Regions from separate parts of the Homo sapiens genome. Here region 2 is linked to region 1. The links are contacts of gene promoters, found by promoter capture Hi-C in human tissues and cell types (Jung and others, 2019). All regions are on one chromosome and are shown on one strand. Each heading gives the region's core, a stretch centred on a gene start or on the middle of the fragment in contact. The rest is flanking DNA. Distances are from core to core; before and after follow the strand shown. Region 1 holds the start of GRP (gastrin releasing peptide). Region 2 has its middle 23 kb from the start of SEC11C.

The links. The method cuts DNA at HindIII sites, captures the fragments that hold promoters and counts their contacts. A contact is called where the count stands out against the background at its distance.
Region 2: a fragment that was not itself captured here is called in contact with the fragment with the promoter of GRP in region 1 in 1 of the 25 tissues and cell types used here (liver).

What each region holds. Positions count from the first base shown.
Region 1 is chr18:59,217,844-59,223,534 of GRCh38, reverse strand. It overlaps GRP (gastrin releasing peptide), which reads right to left and starts at 3,377. Exons shown (of 3, transcript NM_002091.5): 1 at 3,131-3,377. The coding sequence starts at 3,269. RefSeq lists an enhancer at 3,543-4,157. The HindIII fragment of the contact is 15,677 bases long and covers 1-5,691 here.
Region 2 is chr18:59,160,124-59,165,062 of GRCh38, reverse strand. No RefSeq gene overlaps it. Among named protein-coding and RNA genes, the nearest start is that of SEC11C, 23 kb to the right of the region's middle. The HindIII fragment of the contact is 5,175 bases long and covers 965-4,939 here.

The DNA.
Region 1 (5,691 bases), core at 2,128-4,627:
GAATAATTTTGTGGACTTTTCTAAAATGGGAGGAGAAAGTTATTCTCCATTCTGTGATTGTACTAACTTTCAGTACTTGCATATATGGGGAATGTGTGGGGATCAGTTCTTTATCTCTAGTTCCATAGACTGGTTGCTAAGGAGAGCACGCTATCTGTAACATCCCAGGGAAGTACACATTCCCTGGGTCCAGTTTTGCTTTTGAGCTAGTGACTGTCAACCAAATCGTCATCTCCATGGCAACATGGATGATACGCCCACTTCCACCTCTTCTCCCAACATCATCTGTCAAGTGCCCATATCATAATAATGGAAACCTCACCATAGACAAAAGACAGGCACTTGAAAAAATAAAACCTTGATCAGAGAAAAAAAGAGCTTTTGTTCTTTTTATTAATCATTTAAAGATACTACTAAAGGGAAGGTTTGAAACAGAAATGAATAAGACATAGATGAAAGTGTTGAGTACTACTAAGAAGTAGTATTTTTGGACCCACACTTAAATTCTATTCCACAGTTTCTGGGGCCATAACAAGCCATTCTGCAGTGGAATACTGGTATTTCCAAATTCAACCTTCTGGGATATGTCTCACGTCCAAGTTAGAACCACAGTTAGGAGCATTTCATGGGTGCACAGGGAATAGTAGCCAGTATAAGTGTTGTCATATATTTTCATCACACAAACAAAACATTTCCACGAACATCAAGCCAGATAAAAATTTGTTAAGTTTTCAAGCTGTTAACCTTTTTTCCATTGCTGCACCATGCTTCTCTCAGCTAGAAGAAGCAATTTACTTACCAAGCCTGTAAATGTGTGCTGACAGCATCCTCATGGACAGCAGCATGTAGCTTTGGTTTTATATAATTAAAACTAAACTACATGTCTTTGGTGATTGAAGAGGATAAGCATTTTCTTGAGATAACTGAAAGCTAAATTTGAAGTGTAACATCATTCATCCTTGTCAATGCTCATATTCCAACAGAGGGCATGTTACTCAAAGCAAACGTTTTCTCAACCGCAAGGTAATTTTAGGCTAAAATGTGAGTTTCTACTTCACCTCCCTCTTTCCCTTGCTCCTCCTCAACTCTGCACAGTTATCAAAGGGAGAGAAAAAAGTGCATTTGAGAATAAATATGAAAATGGTATTTGGGGTCACCACTGGTTGGTATTCTTTTGGGTTAGGAATGCTCAAGTACCACTATGAAGGGCAATTAAACGGCAGACACCCTAAATACCTGGAGACAGATGTTCTGCGGAACTACAGCAAATCAAGATTGGCTTGACTTGCACCAGAAATAACACGATGCCACTCCCCAGTTAACTCTATTGTCCTCCTTTGGGCCTGCAAGCGTTACCTAATAATAAGCTTTATTAGTGCAATAATATAGATGAGTACAAAGAGATTGGGAATCCAGAACTTTCATTCCATCTTTCCAGCCCCATTGGCTGGTGGCTGGGCCAGATAATGGCCACTTGATCTAAGCTCCCAGAAGCCCTCTTTAAGAAGCATCAATTCTAAGTTTGGATTCTTCAACACCTGCTAAGCATCCTTCATTCTTGAAATGGAGGGTTTTTCAGCTTCACCCATTCCAACCTCTCCTCTCCACACCAGACTGCTGGGTTCCTCCTGTCCCTCAGCGATCACACATCCTCTCATCTCTGGAACTGTCAAGACTTGGCAAATGATTATTTTAGCAACAGTGGAAACCACTCTATTGCAGCCCAAAGATCTCGACTTCCCTCACAAAAGCACACACGACACAGACGAGCTGAGGAAGCAACAGTTCCAGTCCCACTCCTTCCCCCAAATTATTTATCTTCTATCAAGATTTGTGAATCAGCCGATATATGAATTAGCAAGTACTTGTTCAACACACCGTTCCCCAGCGCCCGTTCTAAGTAGATGGCTAAGGAAATACACACACACACACACACACAGAGACACACACACACAGAGACACACACACATACACACTCTTAAATCTCTTCAGGGATTAACCAGCTTCCCAAGAAGCTGGTTGGGGTTGTTGTAGTTGGCTTTTGTGGGGCGGGTAGGTGGGGGAGTGAGGAAGTTGGACGCTCTGCGTTTGCTGGAAGCTATGCTCGGCGACGCCGAGAGCCCTGGGGTGATGCTGGGTGAGCCGAGGCTGCCAGGCGCTTCCTGCCTCCCAGCTGAGCGAAAGCAGCGAGTGCGCGCAGGGCGGAATCCTGACCCCACCCGCAGGCGCCCTCCGCACCCGCAGCGCGGCCGTCCTCTCCGCCTGGGTTCTAGGGGCCATGGCGAGGGAGCCTCCAAGCCGGTGCCTAGAGAGCAGGACCTGTTGCAGAGGGAATGGGAAAGGAGCGAGGGGAAAGGGCGAAGTCGTGGGTCAAGAAGGGCGGAGAAAGAGCGGAGCTCAGAGGGGCAGAGAGATCGGGATGAGCTTGGAGAGCAGGCGAGATTCCCCAAGCTCAGAGCCTGCTGGCTGGAAAGAGGGAGGGCAAAAGGGCAGGGAAAAGAATATCGCTGCAAAGCGAAGAGAAGGACTGAGGAAACTCCAGAGAGTCACAGACAGGCGGGATTCAGGGCACTGCGCACTGAACAGATGTGAAACCCGGGGCGGGAGCGCTGCACCCTAGGTCCCCACACCTGTGGCTTTGCGGGGAGCATAGGCGCAGCTTAGATTTCAGCCCATGCCAGTCGCTGTTGAGGCCACCGAGCTGGACCAGGGTTCTGAGATGCTTTCAAGGGACAACGCTCCCCAAGATTATTCTAGGAGAGTACCGTGCCAGACAGGTTGAGACTAGGCGGACAAAAGGAGATGTAGGATGGGCGCAGAGGGAAGGTGATCTGCACCGGGGTTGGCTGTTGGGAGCTCGGGTGCCCTGGGGAAGACAGGCTGGAAGCGAGCGGGAAAGGATCAGCGGACCAGCCTGCGGCTGACTAGGGACTCATGGGCTCCCTAGAATGGGGAAAGGTGGGGTGGAGTTTTAGGAGAACGGGGAAGGTGTTTGCCGATAGAAAGGTCACAACAAACCCAGCTCCCAAAGCTGGGCCAGGGAAACGCAAAGAAATGGGGAGACAGGTCCCCTCCGGCTGGCTGATCCAGAGGAGGACAAGCGCGCGGCTCCCGCGGCCAGGACACTCACCCACCGCCCAGTGGTTGCCGCGCGGGTACATCTTGGTCAGCACGGTCCCTCCGCCCGCAGGCAGCGGGACCGCTCGCCCCCGGGGCGCCAGGCAGAGGACCAGCGCCAGCAGGACCAGCGGGAGCTCACGGCCGCGCATGGTCCCGACGGGAAGCCCTTGGAGCGCGCCGGAGAGGCTGGGAAGAGCAGAGACTGGTGACCCGGACCTCGGAGGAGCTCCGCCGCCGCAGCCGCTGGTGCTACTGCTGCGGCCTCCACTAGGGCCCCTACTTTATATGGAAGCCCGGGCGGGGGGGCTGGGGGGCTCTTCTATCGCGGACCAGAGCGCTCTGACGTCTCCCTATAGCTAACCGGGGCGCTGGGACGCCCGGTCCGGAAAACCATCCATCTCCCCGCCGAGTGATGAAAAGGCTGAGTGTACATTGCCCCCTCTTTTTTCCTCGTAGCCCCGTCCGCCTTCCCCACATCGGATTAATTCCTCCGGTCCTCGACGCCTTCCATCCAACACAATTTAGTGAACTCCTCCCTCTCCAGGCTCGCCGGCGCCTCCAGCCTTAGCTGCCTTGAGAGTCCTGGAGAGGGCGACCCCGCTGCCTGATCTGGGCCGGGAGGGGTGGGGGGTGTAGCTGGAGACGGGTGAGCTCTAAAGATGGATGGGCTTTGCTGGAGGGATTTGGAACCACCATTTGAAGGCCTTCTGATTCTCCAGACCTTTCTCTTCGTAGGCCACATCTTTGCTGTCCCAGCCCATAGATTTTGGAACCTTGCCTCCTTGCAGATCTCTCTCTCTTTTTCTGGACCTTGCCTCTTTCTTGCAGATCTCCTCCCCTCCTCTCCCCTCCTCTCCCCTCCTCTCCCCTCCCTTCCCCTCCTCTCCCCTCCTCTCCCCTCCCTTCCCCTCCTCTCCACTCCCATACCCTCCCCTCCCCTCCACTCCCCTTCTCTCTTCTCCTCCCCTTCCCATCCCTCTCTCTCTCCCCTCCTCCCCAATCTCTCTCTCTCTCTGTCTCTCTCTCCCCCTCTGCTGCCCTCCACCTTAAGGTTAAGGGCAGTATCCTTAACCCACCTGGTATTCCCAGGCAGCTCTGCCCACTTGTATGGCAAGACAGAAGATAGCTGGCCCTTTTCACAAGCATGCAACTTCCATGGAATAGAGAAAGAAACTGCTTTATGCCAGTTTCCCTAGGCTGCCTCTACCTGAAAGCTCAAACTGTCCCTAAACTGCCACATACACACCCCTCTAGAGTTGCTCAACGTTCCTCTGCTCCTTCTGTTCTCAGATCTAAAGAATGGTCACCAGCCCAATCCCCGAGGTTCTAAATACCATGGATACAAAGGGGATCAGCACCATAGCAATGCAACAATAAATAGAAGCTGGTAGGATGCTGTTGCCCACGTTTTGGCTGCCAGAGTTGGCCGTGTGGTTGGAATAGGTGAGGTCTATTCCTCCTCAAATGCTTGTTAATTGCCTCCCTGTTGGGTCTTTAGTGTTCCATGTCAACATGGTGTTGATATTGATATATTGATATTGATAAAGTTGAAAACATACACTTGTGTCTGAGTATCTGCTGATTCAATACATTCTTCTTCTTCTTTTTTTTTTTTTTTTTTTTTTGAGACAGAGTCTTGCTCTGTCACCCAGACTGGAGTGCAATGGCGTAATCTGGGCTCACTGCAACCTCTGCCTTCCCGGCTCAAGTGATTCTCCTGTCTCCGCCTGTGGAGTAGCTGACATCACAGGCATGCACCACCACGTCTGGCTAATTTTGTATTTTTAGTAGAGATGAGTTTTCACCATGTTGGCCAGGCTGGTCTTGAACTTCTGACCTCAAGTGAGCCGTGGCCTCCCAAAGTGCTGGGATTACAGGCATGAGCCACTGTGCTTGGTGTTCAATATATTCTTAAGTGATTACACACTCACATTGCATGACTGAGTACTCTTGGATCTGAAGAGTATTTTCATGCATGTGTCTGGGTCTAAGAGAAAAAAAGTCAATTTTAAGATCATTAATAGTTTGGTAGCCAACCAAATACAATAATACTATCCTCAGTGAGTGAGCTAAGTGAAAATCAAAAGAAAAAGGTCCACAGACTGGCCTGGGCTCCATCCCTCCCGGGTTCCCAGCCTCTCTGCATTCCGTTCCCAGGCTCTGTCAGTAGGCAAGTGTTCCATTGGCAGGCAACTGATCATCCCTAGGCGTGCTGCCTCCCACACAGTGAGCTTGCTTCAACACAGGGACTTGGTATTGTTCCTCTGTGTGTCTGCAGAGCACCTGGATCATAGTGGTGCTTGATAAGTATTTGGCGAATGAACAACAAACCTAAGAAATGCCCAGGTCTAAGAAATGCCTTCTGCAACCGTGGATCTTTGGAGGCGCATTAAACCCTTATCTCTCCAAATTAAGTTGTAGAAAAATGCTCTTTCTCTTTAGTTTAACCAAGATTATTTTAGAATCTTTCAAATGAAATCCTCCACCTCCTCCCATCCCCATGAAACTAAGGGGAAGCCACTGTAAAGACATTCAAGTGTAGAAATAATTGTTTAGAAAGCACAACACTTC
Region 2 (4,939 bases), core at 2,303-4,802, 59 kb after region 1:
ACCAAGAGGGAGGGGGAATGTGTACCCAGACACAAGAAATTAACCAGATGCTGGAAAGGATATCAGGCATGTCCAGTGAAACAGAAAAATAACAGAGGAAGCTCCCAATAATTCTCAGGGAGAGGAAGAAACTCAGGCGTTTCTATACCATTGCACAAATCAGGGAAAGCAGATAAAAATTAAGTTGAGATTTTTGAAAAGAGAGGAATTCAACCTCATAGATGAGTTTGAGAAATGAGACTTACAAAGGAATATGGCAATGGAAGTTGCATGTTTTCTCCAGACATAAACACTTAATAAAAATGCTATGATGTGGGTATAGACAAACGAATTCTGAAGTTTATAGAGAGAGGCAAAAGACCTAGAATAGCCAATACAATATTTAAGGAAAAAATGCAAGCTGGAAGACTGACACTACCCGACTTGAGGACTTACTATAAAGCTACAGTAATCAAGACGAGGTAGTATTGGTAAAAGAATGGACAAATTGATCAATAGAACAGAATAGACAGCTCAGAAATCCATATAAATATAACCAACTGATCTTTGACAAAGGAGCAAAAGCAATACAGTGGAGAAAAGATAGTCTTTTTAACAAATGGTGTTGGAAGAACTAGACGTCCACATGCAAAAACAATCTAGACACTGATCTTCCACCTATAAAAATTAACTCAAAATACATCACAGTCCTAAGTGTAAAACACAAAACTATAAACTCCTAGAAGATAACACAGGAGAAAATCTAGGTAACCTTGGACATGGTGATGACTTTTTAGATATAACCCTAAAGGTATGATCCACTAAAGAGATAATTGGTAAGCAAGACTCCATTAAAATTTAAAAACCTCTGCTCTGCAAAAGACAATGTTAAGAGAATGAGACCAGCAACAGACTGGGAGAATATACATGCAAAAGACACATCTGAAAAAGGACTATTATTCCAAATATACAAGGAACTCTTAAAACTCAACAGTAAGAAAATAACCCTATTTAAAAATGGGGCCAGGCATGGTGGCTTAGGCCTATTATCCCAGGGGAGGCCGAGGCAGGCGGATCACTTGAGGTCAGGGGTTTGAGGCCAGCCTGGCCAACATGGTGAAACCCTGTCTCTACTAAAAATACAAAAATTAGCCGGGCGTGGTGGAAGGCACCTGTAATCCCAGCTACTTGGTACCACTGCACTCCAGCCTGAGTGAGACTTTGTCTCAAAAAAAAGGGCAAAAGACCTGAACAGACACCTCACCAAAGAAGGTATACAGATGGCAAATAAATATGAAAAGATGTTCAACATCATATGTCATTAGGGAAATGCAAATTAAAACAATGAGCTACCATGACATACCTATTAGAATGGCCAAAATCCAAAACACTGAGAACACCAAATTATGGAGAGGATGTAGAGCAACAAAAGCTGATTCATCGCTGGTGGGAATGCAAAATGGTACACCTGCTTGGGAAGACAGTGTGGCCGTTTCTTACGAAACTAGACACAGTCACCATATGATCCACCAATCGTGGATTGTTTCTTGGTATTTACCCAAGTGAGTCTGAAAACTGATGTCCATACAAAAACCCGCACCACTGAGGTTGTGCCACTGCACTCCAGCCTGGGTGACAGAGCAAGACTCTGCCTCAAACAAAAAAAGAAAAAATACATAGAGAAAACTTAAATGTACATTACTAAGTGGAAAAAAAAAAAGCCTAACTGAAAAGGCTACATACCATGATTCCAACTATATGACATACTGGAAAAGGGAAAACTCTGGAGACAGTAAAAATAATCGGTGGTTGAAGGTAGGGAGGGCTGAATAGGTGAAGCATAGGGAATTTTTTATGGCCATGACTCTATTCCGTATGGTGCTATGATGGAGGATAGATGTCATTACACATTTGTCCCAATCCATAGAATGTATAGCACGACGAGTGGATCTCAATGTTAACTATGGACTTTGGGTGATAATGATGCATCAGTGTAGGTTCATTGATTGTAACAAATGAATCACTCTAGTGGGGTGGTAAGTAGTAGTAGAGGCTGTGCCTATGTAGGGGTAGGAGGTATATGGGAAACCTCTATACTTGCCATTCAATTTTGCTATGAACCTAAAACTGCTCTAAAAAATAAGGCCTATTAAAGAAAATATCCTGCAGTATGGCAGAAGCTAAACACTAGTAGGGAAATCATTAAACCTGAGAAGAGGCAGATGACAGACAGTGTTTGGGTGATGGAATGAAGAACAGAGGGAGGCCAGAGGGAATCCTACAGAAGAAGGCCTGGCCACAGCACGTGTGTAGGTAGCGTTCGCTCCCCGCCGGCACAGAACTGGCGCAGAAACAAGACTCAGTGTAAAAGAGGTTTCTGTCCCCCTGCACCATCCTGAAGCTTCATGCAGCTAAAAGCAAGGTCCCTGGGGAAAAAATGTCCCTGCCATAGGATATGTCTGCAACAATCTAGGCGGGCAGATTTAAAATTCAGAGAAAATCTGAGTAGAATTTTATGACCACAGACAACAGAGAAGAGTGTTCAAGAGGATTGGGAGGCTTTAATTAATTCTAAGTGCTCAAACTCAAGTGACCTTGAAGAAGAAATAGTAAAGCTCTGTTTGATTAAATCCAGGCATCCAATAAACTCTTGACCTGCCCTGATGCTAATTCTGGAGATAGGGAAACTGAGTCTGAATTTGTTAAAGATTCCCTGTTTGGTAAGTTGAGGCAGGGCTTAAATCATTGTGTGACTCCCAACTCCTCCTTCTATCCTACCCCACCCCATACTCCTCATTTGAAATGAAGAGAACCTGGCCGGGTGCAGTGGCTCACGCCTGTAATCCCAGCACTTTGGGAGGTCAAGGTGGGCGGATCACGAGATCGGGGGATTGAGACCATCCTGGCTAACACGGTGAAAACTCATCTCTACTAAAAATATAAAAAATTAGCTGGGCATGGTGGCAAGTGCCTGTAGTCCCAGCTACTCGGGAGGCTGAGGCAGGAGAATGGGCATGAACCCGGGCGGTGGAGCTTGCAGTGAGCCAAGATCGCGCCACTGCACTCCAGCCTGGGCAACAAAGCGAGACTCTGACTCAAAAAAAAAAGAAAAGAAATGAAGAGAACCTGATGAACACAAGTGGTAAAGGATGGATCTCAGCCCAGAATCTCAGGATGAGACTAAGTTGATCGCCCAGTGCCCTGGGCCAAAGGCTACTTTGTAAGATGAAGGCTCACCTAGAACTCAAGTGACCATTCAGAGGTTAGCATCATCTTAGTGGGGGAAATGGTGGTGAGAGGATGACACATAGATGCAGTGTGTTTCTGTTTTTTCCTTATGCAATCTGAAAATAACTTCATGAAGCCGAGAAGGAAGATGTGAACAGTCAAGCATCCTAATCACATTTATTCTCAACTAATGTGTGCAGACGTCTGTTTCTCGGTGGTTCTCAATACTGACCACACATTAGTAACCTAGGGAGGTTTTTTTAAAGAACAGATGCCCAAGTTTGCTTCCTCTAAATTAGAGATTCTCTTACCTTGCTAACTTAGAAAGGTTAGGCTTCTTCCTCTTGCCAACAATGCTTCATTTGCCCAGACTTGCAGGGACAGTGGCAGGTCCAAAATCTCAATAGACAGGCGGATTAGTGTCCACAGTCTGGTTGTTGGAGTGTTTGTGCATGTCTGCAGGAGCTCTATTTTTCTAGCATTTGCATAATGTTAACATATTAATTGTCAAGGGGTAAAGGGGTAGAAGAGCAGGACTCAGGCCTGTGGCTTAGGAAATCAACCAGAGGTTCCACCACTCACCTCTTGAAAAAACTGAAGCTCACCCTACCCCGTAGTAGAAACTTGCCAGTCTGGATGAAAACCTAAATTGATCTCAAATGCAGTATGGCAAACGCCATTTAACTTCTTCCTAAGTGTCTTCTTATAACACAGTGTCGCCTTTGTGGATACACCAGGCAGCATCCTGAAATCCTTGCATCTGTTTTTTATAGTTTGTATTCTTCCTCCTCAGTGGGTATTACCTGTCTGGCCATTGTCTACCAGAAACCCTCTACTCTGATGCTTCTAAGCTGTTGCAAAGTGGAAAAGCAGTTGTGTAACCACATGAGAAATGTGTCACATGAACACTGAGAAGCTCCCAATAAGAGGTTCTACCTGATGAATAAACTGCAAGCAGCTTGGATGTTCTAGTGCTGATTTTGTCTGCTCAGACACATCCTTGGTTCGTGTTGATACATTCCAGACACTGAGGCTACAACTGAGAGCCCCAGATAAAAGAACTTCAATCCAACATTAATTGCCATCGCTCCCATTTTATAAGGACCAACAGCATCAGGGAGGTCAAAAGACATCTTTGTCACTAAAATCCACAATTCAATGGCACTGGCTGAGCCCCGTCAGGGTTCTTAGGTGTCTTTGCAAAGCTCATTTCAGAATGTTAGGCATGTTCAAAGAATTACCAAAAAGCTTAGCCATGATAAGAGTTTTTTAAAAATTTAACTACAGAAGCCCAAGAAGATGATAAAATAATATGATTTTGACCCAACATTTTAAAATACCAGTTTTAGGTAAGGGGAAAAAAATCCATTTTTTCTTAAGAAAACAATGTATTAAAGGGCACAAGAGAATAATGTTTTTAGAAAGTATTCTGTAAATCTTTTTTTCTTTCACTTTGCTGATTTCAACAGGATGAGGTCCATTATTGTTGCAATAGCCTATTTTAGTAGAGAGAAAGGATTAAAGGGCAAGCTGTTCCCAGCGGATCACGCCTGCTGGTCCTTACCAAGCCAGGCGCTCACTCAGGAAAATTAACCATACAGGCGTGACACAGGTTTACACTGAAAGGGAAAACATGAGCAACAATAGGGAACGTCTACCGAGCGGATACTGTGGACATGTCAAGGACCATGCGGCTTATTGCTCATGACAGCCCCATTTGGTAAGTGCAGTT